Linked DNA regions of Homo sapiens: region 2 is linked to region 1. The links are contacts of gene promoters, found by promoter capture Hi-C in human tissues and cell types (Jung and others, 2019). All regions are on one chromosome and are shown on one strand. The core of a region is centred on a gene start or on the middle of the fragment in contact, and the rest is flanking DNA. Distances in the headings are between cores, read along the strand shown. Region 1 holds the start of PENK (proenkephalin). Region 2 has its middle 200 kb from the start of BPNT2.

Region 1 (6,970 bases), core at 65-2,564:
TGGGGAACATAAATCTAAAGAAAGGCACCGAAATGTCACTAACAAAAAATTACATTATTTGTGGGAAAGATGGGAAGATGACTGCGTGTGGAGGGGCCCTTAGCTGGGATATGTTAGGAGTTGTGGTGACAGCCATCTTCCTTCTGACAGCCCAGGAGAGAACCCAGTGCTATCCGAGGTGCTGAACAGAGGACTTCTCGGGGTTCCCGAATTCCCAGGGTTAAAACAAACTTGGTTTGTGCGGCGACACCGCTACCCTTACCGGTCCCCAGATAGTCGCGGATCCCCGAAGCTAAGAGCCAGGGCAGGACTTCAGTCAGTGTTCCAGGAACAGCTGAGACACCCAGGTCACCACGGGCTCGCGCCGCTGCGGCTCCGACCCGGTGCGAACCGCCATACGCGCCGCGCGGTGGGCCGGAGGCAGTCCGCGTACTGTTGCGGAAACTCTGTCTCACAAGGTGCGCAACACTCGCCGCGCGCAACACTCACCAGGAAGTTGATGTCGGCCGGGCGCACTAGGCGGTAGCTGCACGTCGCGCAATCCTGGCTGCATTCGGCCCGCACGGTCGCCAGGAGCCCGGGGCCGAGCAACAGCAGCCAAGTGCAAAGTGTCAGGAACCGCGCCATGGACTGCGAGGAGAGAGGGACGCGTGCTTCGAGCCTGCCTGGGCGCAGAACGGGGTCCCTCGGCAGGACCCTCGCCGCGACAGCCTCAGCAGGGGATCGTCGAGCAAAAGCCCGCAGGAATGCTCCTTTCTGGGGCCCCGCCCTCCCGGCCGACAGCTTTTAGGTAGACGTGGAGGCGACTCAGATCGCCTCGCGGTTCCCGGGATGGCGCGGTCGCCCCCAACGCGAGGCTGCCTGGGGCACCCGGCTCTTTTCCTGGGCGTCCGCGGCCCAGGGCAAGATTCCGGAGAGAACGCCGCAGACCAGGGGCGAGAGAGCGGGAGCCGGGGGAGGCAGGACATTGACTGGGGTCACAAAGAAGAACCAGGGAACGCTGTTGGGGAACCCATGCAATGAAATGTGAAGGGAAAGAGGGCGGGCAGACGTCCCCAAACCCGCTCAGCAAAGACAAGCTTCGGGCAAATTCACTCACGTTGACGCTGTTCGGATGGAGCAGGCCAATTGGAAAAGCCGGGTTCAGACACGACTCTAGAGGGAAGAGAAGAAGGCAAGTGTGAGGAGGGCGGGCGTCGGGGAGAAGCGGGCCCGGGTGTGCTGGCGGACGTAGGGCCTCACCGTCGCGGTCCTCAGCGTCTCTGCGGGGTCACGGGCCAGGCTGCGGGGCTCTGAGCGCCTGCCTCGCCGTCCCGGGGCTTAACGGCTGCTGGAGCCACTTTATAATTAGCCCCAAACCGAAGGAGGCGCGCGCGCCCCAATCGCCGGCGGGCTGCAGCTGACGCAGGCCCTACGCCAGCCCCGCGCCGACGCCTTCGCGGGAGGGGTCGGTCCCCCAGCACCCGCGCGCCGCTCCCCCCGCCGAGCTCGGGTGGGGGCCACAGGGGGCGCTCGGTGGCTCCCCACACGGCCAGGTGACAAACCCAAGGCAGTTAGGAAGTTTGGGGAGAGTGAGATAGGATCAAGTTTCTCCGCATAAAGTCACTGAAATTGCACCGTGGGATGCGGGCTCCAGGGAGGGAAGCGAGGTGGGGGCGTTTGGAAGGATAGATGGACTGGCTTAGACTTCTGGAATGTGCTGGAGACCCAGCGGGCCGGTGAACCTGCCCCTTTCCCGCCTCCTCCCTGGGCCCCCTCGCGGGTCCCCGTGGGCACCAAGCACAGCCGTCCGGAATGTCGTCATTTATTGACCAACCTGTCCCCCACACTTGACTCCGAGTTCCTTACTGCAGCATCTAACAGCGTCAAGGTGCGCAGTTTAGGCGCTCAATTAATGGTTACAGGAACTGAACGATTGAAAGTTTCTGGGAATCTTAAAATCTCAGGACAGAATTTTCACCTTTCCAGTTAGAGACCCTTGGCCAAGCGTAGAAGCAGGTAAACCCTCAGGTTCCGGGACTGCGCGCTTTTCAGCCACTGTGGGAGAGGATCCGTGTTTAACCAGCTCCCCGGGGCTCCCAAGTCGAAGACCTACTGCCTTGAGAGCGCTGTCCAGGGTGTCCGGGGGTGTTGGATCAGTGAGAGGGGGGTGCCGGGGCGGGTGTAATGTCAGCGCGCCAGGAGTGTGGTGGGGAGGGAGGGATGAGGGACACCCTACCCGGGACGCCGGGGCTTGGAACCTCTTCTCCACCGGGAGGGGGCCGAGGGCACACTGTGGAGGCTGGTACTGTCCATTAAGACACGCTTTCCCGCTTCCTGGCTCTGCAAAAGATTGCTAAGCGGCAAGCTGCTTACATTGCCTGAGGCCTCAGTTTCCCTATTTGAAAAATAGGAACAGAGGTAATATGCCATTCATAAGGTTCTGGAGAGAATCAAATGAAATAGTGGACGAAATCTCTTAGCCTTGTGCCTGGCACTATAGCAAGCCCTCAAAACATCTTCTAACCATCCGTCATCCGTCCGTCCACCTTTCCATCTGTGACCATTGTCTGCTTACCTTATAGCTACCATCGATGTATCCAATCCACCTATGCATCTATGTCTCCTAGACCTAGGGGGAAACCATAAACAGTTCCTGGGAAAAGGTCCCAGAGGTTTCCAGGCCCTCTGCGCCCTCTGCAAAGGGCTGATTTCTACAGTCGCTAGGACCTGCAGCGGCGCTGCTCCCGCGGGGCTCCGGCCGCGCTGCATGTCCCATTATAGTCGCTAGAGGGCAGCGCTCTCCTGCGTAGGCTGGGCTTGCGGGGACTGGGGTCTCAGTTCTCCGCAGGCCTCAATGTGCGGGCTTGACACGCAGCCCTCGGATTAGCCCCGAAGCTGCACCCGAGCACCGCCTGCCTCCCGGCCGGGGCATCACGGTAGCAAGGTCGGGAAAGCAGAGCCCTGGAGTGGGGCTGGAGAACCCCGGACATAGCCCTAGGGAGCCAGCATTACCCTCTGAGCAGGAAAACACAATGTTTCCCGCTTTAGGTTCTTTTCATCATGGGGCCCCTTACTAGCTCCTTACTCTCTCCCCAAGGCAAAGGAGAGCTTTTGTCTTTACTTCAGATTTTTCCTTGTTGCCTGGGCTTTGGAAAGGAAGCTGACTCCACTGCAGTACTCAGTGCGAAAGTATTGCATGAACAAATTCTACCTAAAATTAAAGGAAACTTGCTATAGCTGAGCACTTGCGAACCTGGGATCACCTAAGAACTTTAAACGCATAATCAGGAGCGGGAGGCTGAGGTAGGTGTGTGTGTGTGTGTGTGTGTGTTTGTGTGTGTGTGTGTGTGTTTGGAATGACCACATCACGCGATGCTTTTTAAGGGTGCACAGCGCGCAGTAGTGGAAACAGTGCATTTCTGCACCCTGGCGACACAAAGGCTCGTTAGGATCTTGGAAAAGTAGAAGCTTAAGTTTGGGAGAGGTTTTAGGGATAATTTATTCCACCGCCCGTTCTACAGATGGTAAAAACCAAGGCTCAGAACGTCTGAGTGACCAGCCAGGGCAGTGGCAGACCAGGTTTTCCAGCCTCTGAGTTCCTTCCCGAAACCTACCTCAGGCCTAGTTTGTTTCTGTTGGAACTAGTCATGTTTGCTCTGAGTTAGGGTCTCTTGGCGCATTTGCATTTTCCCCTGAGACTCCTGAAATGTCAGGGGAGAGAGAAACAGAAAGGGAAAGAGAGGGCGCCTCCTAGGGGCAGTGCAAGAGTGTGCAGTCCCCCACGAGACCTTCCTAGATGCTTGGGGCACAGTGGTTGCTTGGTAAATGTGTGTCGACCGGCTGACTGACTGAATGAATGAAGTGATAGGAGGTCGACCTTGTTTGCCTACCCCAAATCAGTGACATCTCTTCCCATCATCCTCCCCCATCGACCTGAGAAACTAAAAGTCATTCTGGTGGCAATGAGTTGTAAGAAATTCATTTTTTCATCATCTTTTAAATATTTATCAAGAGTGAACAGACTTTGCAGTTATGATCTGGGAGAAAGCTGCTCTAGAAATCAGACTAAAAAAGGGAAGGGGCTCTGTCTTAAAGCATTCAATCCAGACATTTTTTATTTTCAGGTTAGGATCAATAACTCATCTTCTGATCCTAGGGTCCCAAGCATTTGCCCAAAGGGATTCATCCTAGAGACCAAGAAATCTGACTTTTTAACCCTGATGATGAATGGCATTTTACTCAGTTCTTAGGTGTTCTCAGAGTCTAAAAAGGTGGGATTTTACAATGTTCTTTTAGTGTCCTCTTCCATTATTTTCAGATGGAAGATGGCTAAATTGAATGACGTCTTTCTGGTACTCACTCCTCTGCTCCCCTCCCCTTCCTGTCACCCAAGCACACGTGTTTTATTACAGAAAGCCATTTCTGTCTGCCCCCCTCTCTCTAAAGTAGCAGTAGTGGAAACAAGCCCCTTCAGCACTCAGGCAATTGTGTGATGGTTCAGCATAAAAGCAACATGTTCTAACATTTCAGATGTTTGGAGTCATGCCAGAGTCAGGGGAGACATCCCCGTTTTCAGTTACAATCTAAAGTGCACAGTTTGCAAAATGTGATTCTGTGAGTTGGGCATATAACTGTGAAGTAGCACTGTTAAGGGATTCTTTTTCAGACTGGCTCAGAACACCATAACAGAGCAGCTGGAAGTGGGGTTGGCTTGAACGAGATGTTTTATGGTGTCACAAACCCCATTTTAAGGAAAGTCAGTGTTGGAACATTCTGGAAAATGTACCAGGAAATAGAATAAAACTCTAGGAAGAAAAGGTAATCTGGTACAAAGTTGCCAGATTAAATAATAGAAAGAGTTTAAATAATATAAATTAAATAATAGAATGAGTTTAAATAATAGAAAACATGTCAATGTGTCAGAGGAGGTGGGGAGAAAGGGAAGGTAAATTAAACCAAGAATATCAAACATATTGTTTATGTACTGTAAACTTAGGGAGGATTGAAACACACTTCCTAACTTTGGCCTTTTGCTCTCCAGGAGGGAAAAGATCAATCTTACTATTAAGTATAGGTAATTAGACAATGAATAAAGCAAGTCCTATTATGAAAAATTAGATTAAAATAAGATATAGCTGTGAGTCCAACCAATAGAGTATGTCTTGAGCAGCTCGACTTTTAATAATGACTTTTGAAATTGCCTTGAGAAATTTAATAGCCACGTGAGAGAACCAGTCAATGTTAAAAAATTGTGTTGCCTCAGTGAAACCCCGTCTCTAATAAAAATACAAAAAAAATGAGCTGGGTGTGGTGGCGGGTGCCTGTAGTCCTAGCTACTCAGGAGGCTGAGGCAGGAGAATGGCAGGAAGCTGGGAGGTGGAGCTTGCAGTGAGTCGAGATTGCGTCACTGCACTCCAGCTTGGGCGACAGAGCAAGACTCCATCACAAAAAAAATTGTGTCACCTCATTGGATTCAAACCTTATTCAACAACTTGACTTTGATTTGGTGTTTTGGTTGTTTCTGAAATCAAATATTAGATCCCACTTATGGGACCTGTATAGAAGGCATTCAAAAATATTCATCCACCACAGACAATTTCCACAGTTGAAGGAATGCTAGAAGAGAAGTTCTAAATAGATTTTGATCAATAGTAAGTTATTGGAATGAATGCAATGGCTGCAGGATACCAAGTTCTTAAGGGAATCCCTTTGCGTATGATCCACAGCACAGATGTTTGCACATAGTAGAGACTCAGTGAAGTTGCTTTTAAAACATGTGTTTTTGCTTATAGTTACATCTTCCATAGCTCCCAAGTGATGGTGAATGGTGGGATAGACCCAAGAGGTCAAACTGTTTTAATAAAATTATATAGGGAAAGCACTCAAATCTTTCAAAGCTATCAAATAAAAACTGAGCAAACTGAAAAACCACGACTCTTCTTAGATCTATCATAGAGGTTGGGTCACAGGGGAAACCACTGTCCCCCCAAATTGGAGAGACCAACAGGCAAACACAGGGGGTCCTGGCTTGCTGGTGCAGAAACCTCCCAGAGAATCAGTTGGGAGGTAGAAAAACCTGAACTACAGCTGACAAATTCCGGGAAACTGTGTGAACAAATCTGAGATAAAAATTCCAGGAGAACCCAGTCCACGGAGGCCTCCACACTTTCATGAGTTTTACTTACAGGTGTTCAACCAGGTTCTCACAATGAATAATGGAAAAAATTTCCCTTGTGCTTCAAGCAGTGGGAGGGAAAAAAGAGCCATTTTGAAATACACCGGAACATTGTGTTCCTAACAAGGTTTGCCCACAGGAGAACCTAGTTAACCAGAGTCTAATCTCCTGAAGTTTTATCAGAAAATAGCTGACCTGAGGGACTGGAAATACCCAACTCCAGCCCCCTCCAGCCATTGTGTTCTACTGAAGGGGAGGCTGGGGACTAAGAACATATGTAAAGTTCACAGCCCAGAGGTACAGGCTCACTAAAGACTGAGACCTACTCAGAGGACTGCAGAACACTCCCTTCCTGCTTTATCAACACATTACTAAAGGCATATTTATAACATTTCCGTTTACCCAGTACATCAAGTCTGGCTGTCAAGAAAAAATTACAAGACATACTAAAAACCAAAAAAAAAAAAAAAAAATCCCCACAGTTTGAAGAGACAGAGCAAGCATCAGAACCAGGCTCAGATATGTCAGAGATGTTAGAATTACCAGATGGGGAACTTAAAACAGCTATGATTAAAACACTAAAGGATGAGGTAGACAGCATGCAAGAACAGATGGGCAATGTAAGCAAAGAAACAGAAATTCTAAGAAAGATCCTAGAAGAAATGCTAGAAATCAAAAACACTGTCACAGAAATGAAAAATGCCTTTGATGGGTTTATTGTTAGACTGGATATGGCTGAGGAAAGAATCTCTGGACTTGGGGATATGTCAATAGAAACTGCCAAAACTGAAAGGCAAAGATAAAAAAGACTGA
Region 2 (7,263 bases), core at 4,094-6,593, 350 kb after region 1:
CAGCTCCGTTGGTGCGTATGTCTGATGCCTCCCTTCCCAGAGGCTGCTACCAGCCTACAACAGAACACGGCAGGGAGATGGGGACTCCTCTGACCAGTGACTCTGGCTCAGGTACTCCCTGAGACACTTACACCTGCACTTTGATCTGATGACTCTCCTAGCTTCTGCTGTCTCTCTCTCCTTTTTCCTAACGAGGATTTTGGTCTCTGCCTCTTGGAGAACCTGAAGCAACACACCTGTTATATATTCTCCTGACACCATGTTCTCCTATCCTTTCTATAACATGCATTTCCTTTTATACCTGCATGTTTATTTGTGTAATTGTTTGATTAATGTCTATTTCTCCTGCTAGGCTGATAGACCTTGAAGAGCGAAGACTGCATCTGTTTTGCTCCCATTATAATTTGTATGGCTAGTACAGAGCCTGGCATATACCAGCTGCTCAATAAATACTTTTTGAATTAGTAAAGAAAGAATTTAGAAATGAAGAAACTCAAATTAATTATGATGGTTGGCATGTCAGAGTAGTAAGGGGTGACTAAAGAGTTTTGAGCATTCTTTTGAGATTATCAGAGGATTTTTTTTCTCTGAGCAAATGGAATGATAAGCATATTATCATAAATCTGAAGAAAAGGTTTAGTCATATTCAATTATTTTTTCAAAAACAATTCTTTTTCCATAGCCCTTCTTTCTCTCTGTCAGGTGCCCTTTCTTATTTTCTCTCCATTAAATTCTTTCTCACTCAGGTAAATCTGGGTTTGAATGCCAGTTTGGCGATTTGCAAGTCCTTAATCTGTTTGAAAACTAATTCTTCATTTTTAGCAACAATATAATTAGCAATTATAATAGTATCTAACTCACCTGTTATTACATAATGAATGTGAAGTGTTAATCACATGGCCTAGCATACAATTTTTACTCAATAAATGTTATTAGTACTTTTATTATTATCATCAACACTGTATTAATAGAATACCACCTACTTGTAGCCAAATTAGAATCACATTTCTAAAACTTTAAGCTTGTAATTATCTCATCTTTCATATATTCACAGGTAAGAAAAACTTTATTCTGGAACTTGTGAGTTGAGGGTAAGAACGTGTATTTACAAAGTAATGAAAGTATGTGAGAAGAAGAAGATGAAGGCTTTTCTGATCATTACATCTTCTAAAAAGGGTATACAATATGATTTTAAGATCCAGAAATAATCTAGACAAATATCATTTTTCCCTGTTTTCCTCTCCTTACTTTATTCTGAAATTATATCATTAGAATGTCATCCCTGAGTAAATATCTTGAGAGTGATAGCACTTTGAGCTCTTGGTAGCCTGAAAAGGGATCATTTCTGTTTGAATTCTATAGAGGCTTCTAGAAACATCTCTGTACTCTACCCATGTTCACCTGCCCCAGGGAAATTGATGATGCTTCTTAGAGCACATTGCTAGTTTTGTGACATGAATAACTGAGTCATTCTCAGATCAGAAATGATACTCACAATAACAAAATTTGTTCTTTAAAAGAACAAATATGTAAACCAAATAACCCTCAAATTAAAAGCACAGACCCTGAGAAGTGGCAGACTTCTTGGAGGTGATTTATTTCAACCTTCTAACAATTCAGTCTTTTCTGTGATATTGACCTGAGAGGCATCCAACATTGCCCTGCTGTTACTTGGCTATAGAGGGAGGGCTTTCGAATAGAAACACCTGTGGACACAGTCCTGCCTCTGCCACCAACATCTGTGTTCTTAAGCATGCCATGTAATTTTGAGGTTCTGTTTCCTCACTAGCGAAAGAAAAATTCTTTGAATTTGGTGTTCCTATGACTTTATCTATTCCAATGACGGGGAACTCACTACCATCTTCATTGGAGAGCTGGATTGCTGGTGACAACATCTGTTACATTGAATCAAAAAATGTTTCCTCAATATTCCCTATGTCTTGGTTTGCTTCTTGGAGTTACTCAAAATGAAATGAGGTACTCTTCAAATATTTGGATATTGCTGATGTGCTCCCCTGTTCTTTGCTTCCTCAAGCTAAGCAAACACAAGGAAATAAGTCTCGTTCTGTGTGACATGAGTCGTGGATCCCTGCCATCTGCCTTTGGGCACATCTTTGTTTGCCAATATCCTTCATAAAATGTACTTCCGAGAACCAAACACAATACTATATATAATAGATAGAATTAAGATGAACAATCTAAATTACAACACATTTTTATAGCTCAGCTCTAAGCACATCTGTTGCTTAGTCAGTCCTCCATTGGTTGAAACAGGGACTACACAAATGCTCAGCCCCAGGTTACCAATAAGCTGTTGCTCATTTGTTCAACAAGTGCCTTAACTTTACAGGCTAACTCCGTTTCCCAGGAGTCTGCATTCTGAGTCAAAGCCATAATCTTCATCTGAGAACAGCACTATTTCTTAAGTAATTCTTAGATTGTTTTCTAGCTGAGCTCTGACCACTTTCAGAAAATTTTTTTTTCACTTTCAGAAATTTTTAACAAACATGCTGGTCCTTGGAAATGGATTTCTCATACATGTTCAATATAAGTTTACCAATGACTTATAATTATTTAAATATCATAAACCAAGAGATGTCAGTGAAGCAGTCATTAATATAATAGTGTAACTGACTAATTTGAAAACATGCATATATTATGAGTGCTTTGGGTACAAGAATGAGAAAAATTACAGATAGCCTGTAAAAGGGAGATTAACAGCTAGTATGGAGACTCAAGCCTCAAAGAAAACTTTACTCAGTTTCCCTAGGTGGCACAGTCTTACATATCCTTCATGTCCCTGATGATATTGATCCCAATATGTGGGTAGACTAGATAGAAATGATACATAGAATTGATTTTATTGATATGCCAAGGTAAATGGTCAATCAATATTTGCTGTATTGAATTGTAAGAAGTAGACTAACCACTTACAACCATGTTTTTAAATCATCTTGAGGATGAGTTCATATAAACCATGGAGATATGAAAGAGGTCCTGGTTGAAAACATGGGTCTTGAGTATGAAGGTCTTGGCTTTATAAATTCATCTGACTACTGTGCATATTACATTACTTCTCTATACCTTACATTCTTTTTCTGTAAAACAAGGCTAATAAAAGCCAATCTTCTTATTTGGGTTATGAGAATTAAATGAGTGAAATATCTTAGCAAAACACTTAGCCAAATGTTTGGAAATAGAGAATGTTCAATGAATTGTAGGAAATATTGTGTGTGTGATAAGCTTGCAAGTAGCCAGTCTGTCTGCCCATCCACATCTTGCCTAGAACGCTAAAGAAATTCTTATTGAATTCATTAAAGGACTAGTAGATTTTCACTGAAAATGTCCCATGTTTACTTTAAGAAGATAATAAAAACAATAATAATATGAGTAGTGAAATTGTTACATAATGCTTACTATGTGCTGGACACCATTCTAAGTATTTCACATTTGTTAATTTGGTTAACATAGAAGAAACAATTCATTAGTTACACCACTTGACTGCCTCAATAAATGCAAAATCCAGTAAGAAAGAAAATAGTATTTGATTTGGTAATTTTTTAGTCTTCTTATTAATACATCTTAATTTTATCTATTTATTAATAATCTGACACTGATTTATAATATTAGAAAGCTGATTGCCCATCATGTGATCTTCTATGTAGATACAAAATGTTTAACATTCTAAGATAAAGTTGAATTCAATAGAGGTAGAATATTTCTTGAGGAAATTAAAGTACCTACTAATGTGTTATCCAGAAATGGGGAAGGGAAATGGAATTTCCTCAGGGTCCCTCAAAGCAGTAGAATACAAGATTGAGAATGTGCAAAATGGACTGATCCTTCATTGCATTTCCTGGGGGTGCGAAAGACTCTCAGATGCAGCTGTCATACTGAGCCTTCATGAACAATCTGTTCTAAAATGACAAAAATATGACTTGTGGGCAGGGCAATCATTTAATTTCCAGCAGAGGAAAATAAGGACAGTGTACTTGGTGATTATTCCCCATCCTAATGTAATTTACTGTGTCTCGGTTTTCAGTTATCATCCTATTCAAGGTTACAAAATGTTAGTAGACTGAACTCAATGCCTTATTCCTGCATTGAAAAAACATTGTTAGAACTTTTAAGTGTTTAAAATTATTGACTGTCTCAATTAATTCAAGAAGCATTCTGTCTTGACAAAACATTCCATTACCAAGTTCTTGTACCTAATCCTCTGCCTACAGGCTGGCAAATAAATTGGGCAAGACAGATATAAGTGTCCAATATATCTGGCCTAGTGTTCATATTCATGAGTTCTAGGCCTGAAAATTTGACAAATTCCTGAGGTAACACACTCTAGATCCTAATCACATTTATAGTCAAGATGCTTTCCTCCAGGTCTTGACAAATTAGTTTCAGAATTAGTTCCCCTTATTCAGCTTCCTTAACTCTAATACTCCTAACTCTACACTGCAGCTGGTCTAGCTTATTCTGCTGAGTATGGATAACACCCTCCCAGCCACTCTGTCTCCTGCATGCCTTCTCCATTGCAGCCCACCCTCTGAGATCAAAGTGGCAGGGGGTGGGGGAGTATGCTAGAAGTCTGGTGCTCACTATCTCAGAGCCACTTCTGATCTCAGCTCTATCATATACACTAGGCTTTAGGATTTGCTTTCTACACACTGAATAGAAGCCAGTCACTAGACAGATGAGTTTAAAATAAATTGTGAAGTGATGTAATTATGATATGCATAGTTAGATTGTTATTAACAAATCTGCTTCCTTCAGGATGAACTTATTAGCATTCATTACTGATAGCACTTTACAGTTTTTAAACTATGGCCAGTGAGCTCAAAATGCTTTTTTGTGTTTTGAAATGCTAAATCCTTATAGCATAGTATCTAAGTAGACAAAACTGTAAGTTATTCTAAGGCCGCTACACATTGGTTATGATCTATTCAGTATTTTTAGAAGAGATGTTTATTGAGAGCCTTTCATCTTGGCTTGTGCTAGACAAAGGGAAAGTGATGGCTAAGACAGTCCCTGTTCTTGAGGAGCTTCTCATGTTCTAGAAGAGGGGAATATACAATGGAGTCATTAGGGACCAGGAGGCATGTGCAATGTATAGACACAGTGAATTCTGTGAGGGCCTTGAGGGAGAAACCTACCCCAGCCCAGGGTATGAGTCAGAGTCAGCCAGGCAGAGAGGGGAAGGCCATTCCCGACAGGGAGATGCTTGAGCAAAGGTGAGGAGCATAAAATGGCACAGTGCTGGGGGGAAATTCTCCAAGGAGTTTCGTGGTGCCTTCTGCATATTGCATTGTGGTGGCTGTGGAAAATAAAGTAATTTGAGAAATAATAGAGGTAAAAGAGTTCACCGCTGATTTATTTAGGACGAGTCAATGAGAAAGGAAGAATTGAGGCTGACTCACAGGTTTCCACAAGGTGCCTGGTGGTGGTGTAGACTAAACCATAGAATACAGAAGGAAAGGGGTTGGGAGGGAAATGCTTTCAGTCATGTTCACAATAAGTGTGGTATAGGTAAGAGGCAAGTGGATGTATAGTCCATGTTTAGGGGGATAAATTTATATAGAATTAGGAGTTGTCTACAGAGAGATAGTAACAGAAACCATGAGAGGGCATGAGTGCATAAGTCAGGTGAGTGGATGAGATCGTAAGGGATCAGCAACATTTAGGGATTAAATGGATGCTCATGTGTCTGCTTCAAAAACTCATATTTTGACTTCCTTCAATATAATGACCTGTGGTATTATAAGCATTTTGTGCGCCCTCCACAAAGATGTTCACATTCGAATCTCCAGAACTTGCAAATATAACTGTTTACAGGGCAAAAGGGAATTAAGATTGCAGAGGGAATTAAGGTTACTAATAATCTGGCCTTAAAATTGGGAGGTTATCCTGGATTATGCAAATGTGCTCTGTGTAATCACAAGGGTTCCTGAAAGTAGATGAAGAGTGCAAAAGAGTCAGTGTCAGAGTAATGTTAGGTGAGAAAGACTCGGCCAGAGTTTGCTGGCTTTGAAGATGGAGGAAGGGAGCCAGTAGCCAAAGACTGAGGGTGAAGGTGAACTCTAGAAGCCAGAGAAGGCAAAGAAAGGGCTTCTCCTCTAGACCTTCCAGAAGGCATGCAGTCCTACTGATGCCTTGATTTTAGCCCATGAGACCAATGAGACCCATTTCAGACTTCTGATTTCTCAAACTATAAAGTAACACATTTTTGTTGTCTTGAGCCAGTAAGTTTGTGGCAATATGTTACAACAGCAATAGATGACTAATACTGAACCGTATCTTGGTTTCTCTTTGTATGCTCGGCATTCAGTAACTGTCTGTGATACACAAGCTCAAAAAATTAACTTATAAATGAACAAATATGGAACTTAAGATCCTAAAGATATGTATCATTTGTCCAGAAAATTGAGATTGTGCCAGCATAGAAACACATGATCATTTACTTTTTCCATTCTATATTTAGATTTTCTTTCTTTTGTTTTTGTTTTGAAATATTCAGTCTTGAAAAATCAAACAAAGGTGATGCTATACCAAGATCCTAAAGAATACAAGCACATTTTATTTATAAATTGTTGACATTACAGAATCCATTAGCATTTATTTCTAAATACCAATTATTGGAAGAGTAGTTGTTGTTTCATGTCATTATTTATATTTTGTGACAATCCTGCTTCCCAGTTAGATTTTAAGCCTTTAGAGGGCAGGGAGCTTGCCTTATGCCACATTGCGTCCCTGATTCCTGCAAAAATGACCAGTGAAATTTTCTTAAAGAGAACCTGCTATGGGTCAGAAAAGAGTTTATCTTGCCTTTGAGTTGAAGACAGTGGTATGTAATAGCTACCTCACATTGACCCATGAGAGACCATCAGCGTATATTTAGGAATTTTGTGAACCAGTTGATGTTAGGAATTTCTAGGGCTTTTGTGAGCCAGTAGCTTGAAATTGGCCATGATGGGATTATTTACACCACAAAAATTGGCAAATAATACAAGTCAGCTTCTCATTTCAAGAGGCACATCTACAAGGATTTCATGAAGTTCCACAAGTTTTTGCCTTGGAGCATTCCTGGGTTACTTACTTAATGGTTGCATTGTATTTGCTGTCTGAAGACTGGGCTGTTGGAGTTGTCTTCAAAACTAGTCATTTATATTTTCAGTTTTTAGCCACTTAACAGGAAACTGGACTGGTTTAAAGAATCCATGAGAGTATGATGGATTAAAGTGGAGTCTGATCGACTTCATGAAAACA

What was found. The method cuts DNA at HindIII sites, captures the fragments that hold promoters and counts their contacts. A contact is called where the count stands out against the background at its distance.
Region 2: a contact is called between a fragment that was not itself captured here and the fragment with the promoter of PENK in region 1, in 1 of the 25 tissues and cell types used here (H1 embryonic stem cells).

The regions. Positions count from the first base shown.
Region 1 is chr8:56,445,327-56,452,296 of GRCh38, forward strand. PENK (proenkephalin) reads right to left here and starts at 1,315. Exons shown (of 4, transcript NM_001135690.3): 1 at 1,243-1,315; 2 at 1,100-1,155; 3 at 490-630. The coding sequence starts at 627. It overlaps PENK-AS1 (PENK antisense RNA 1), which reads left to right and starts at 481. Exons shown (of 4, transcript NR_125813.1): 1 at 481-1,174. RefSeq lists an enhancer at 86-977. The HindIII fragment of the contact is 6,864 bases long and covers 1-6,372 here.
Region 2 is chr8:56,795,082-56,802,344 of GRCh38, forward strand. No RefSeq gene overlaps it. Among named protein-coding and RNA genes, the nearest start is that of BPNT2, 200 kb to the right of the region's middle. The HindIII fragment of the contact is 6,423 bases long and covers 2,133-7,263 here.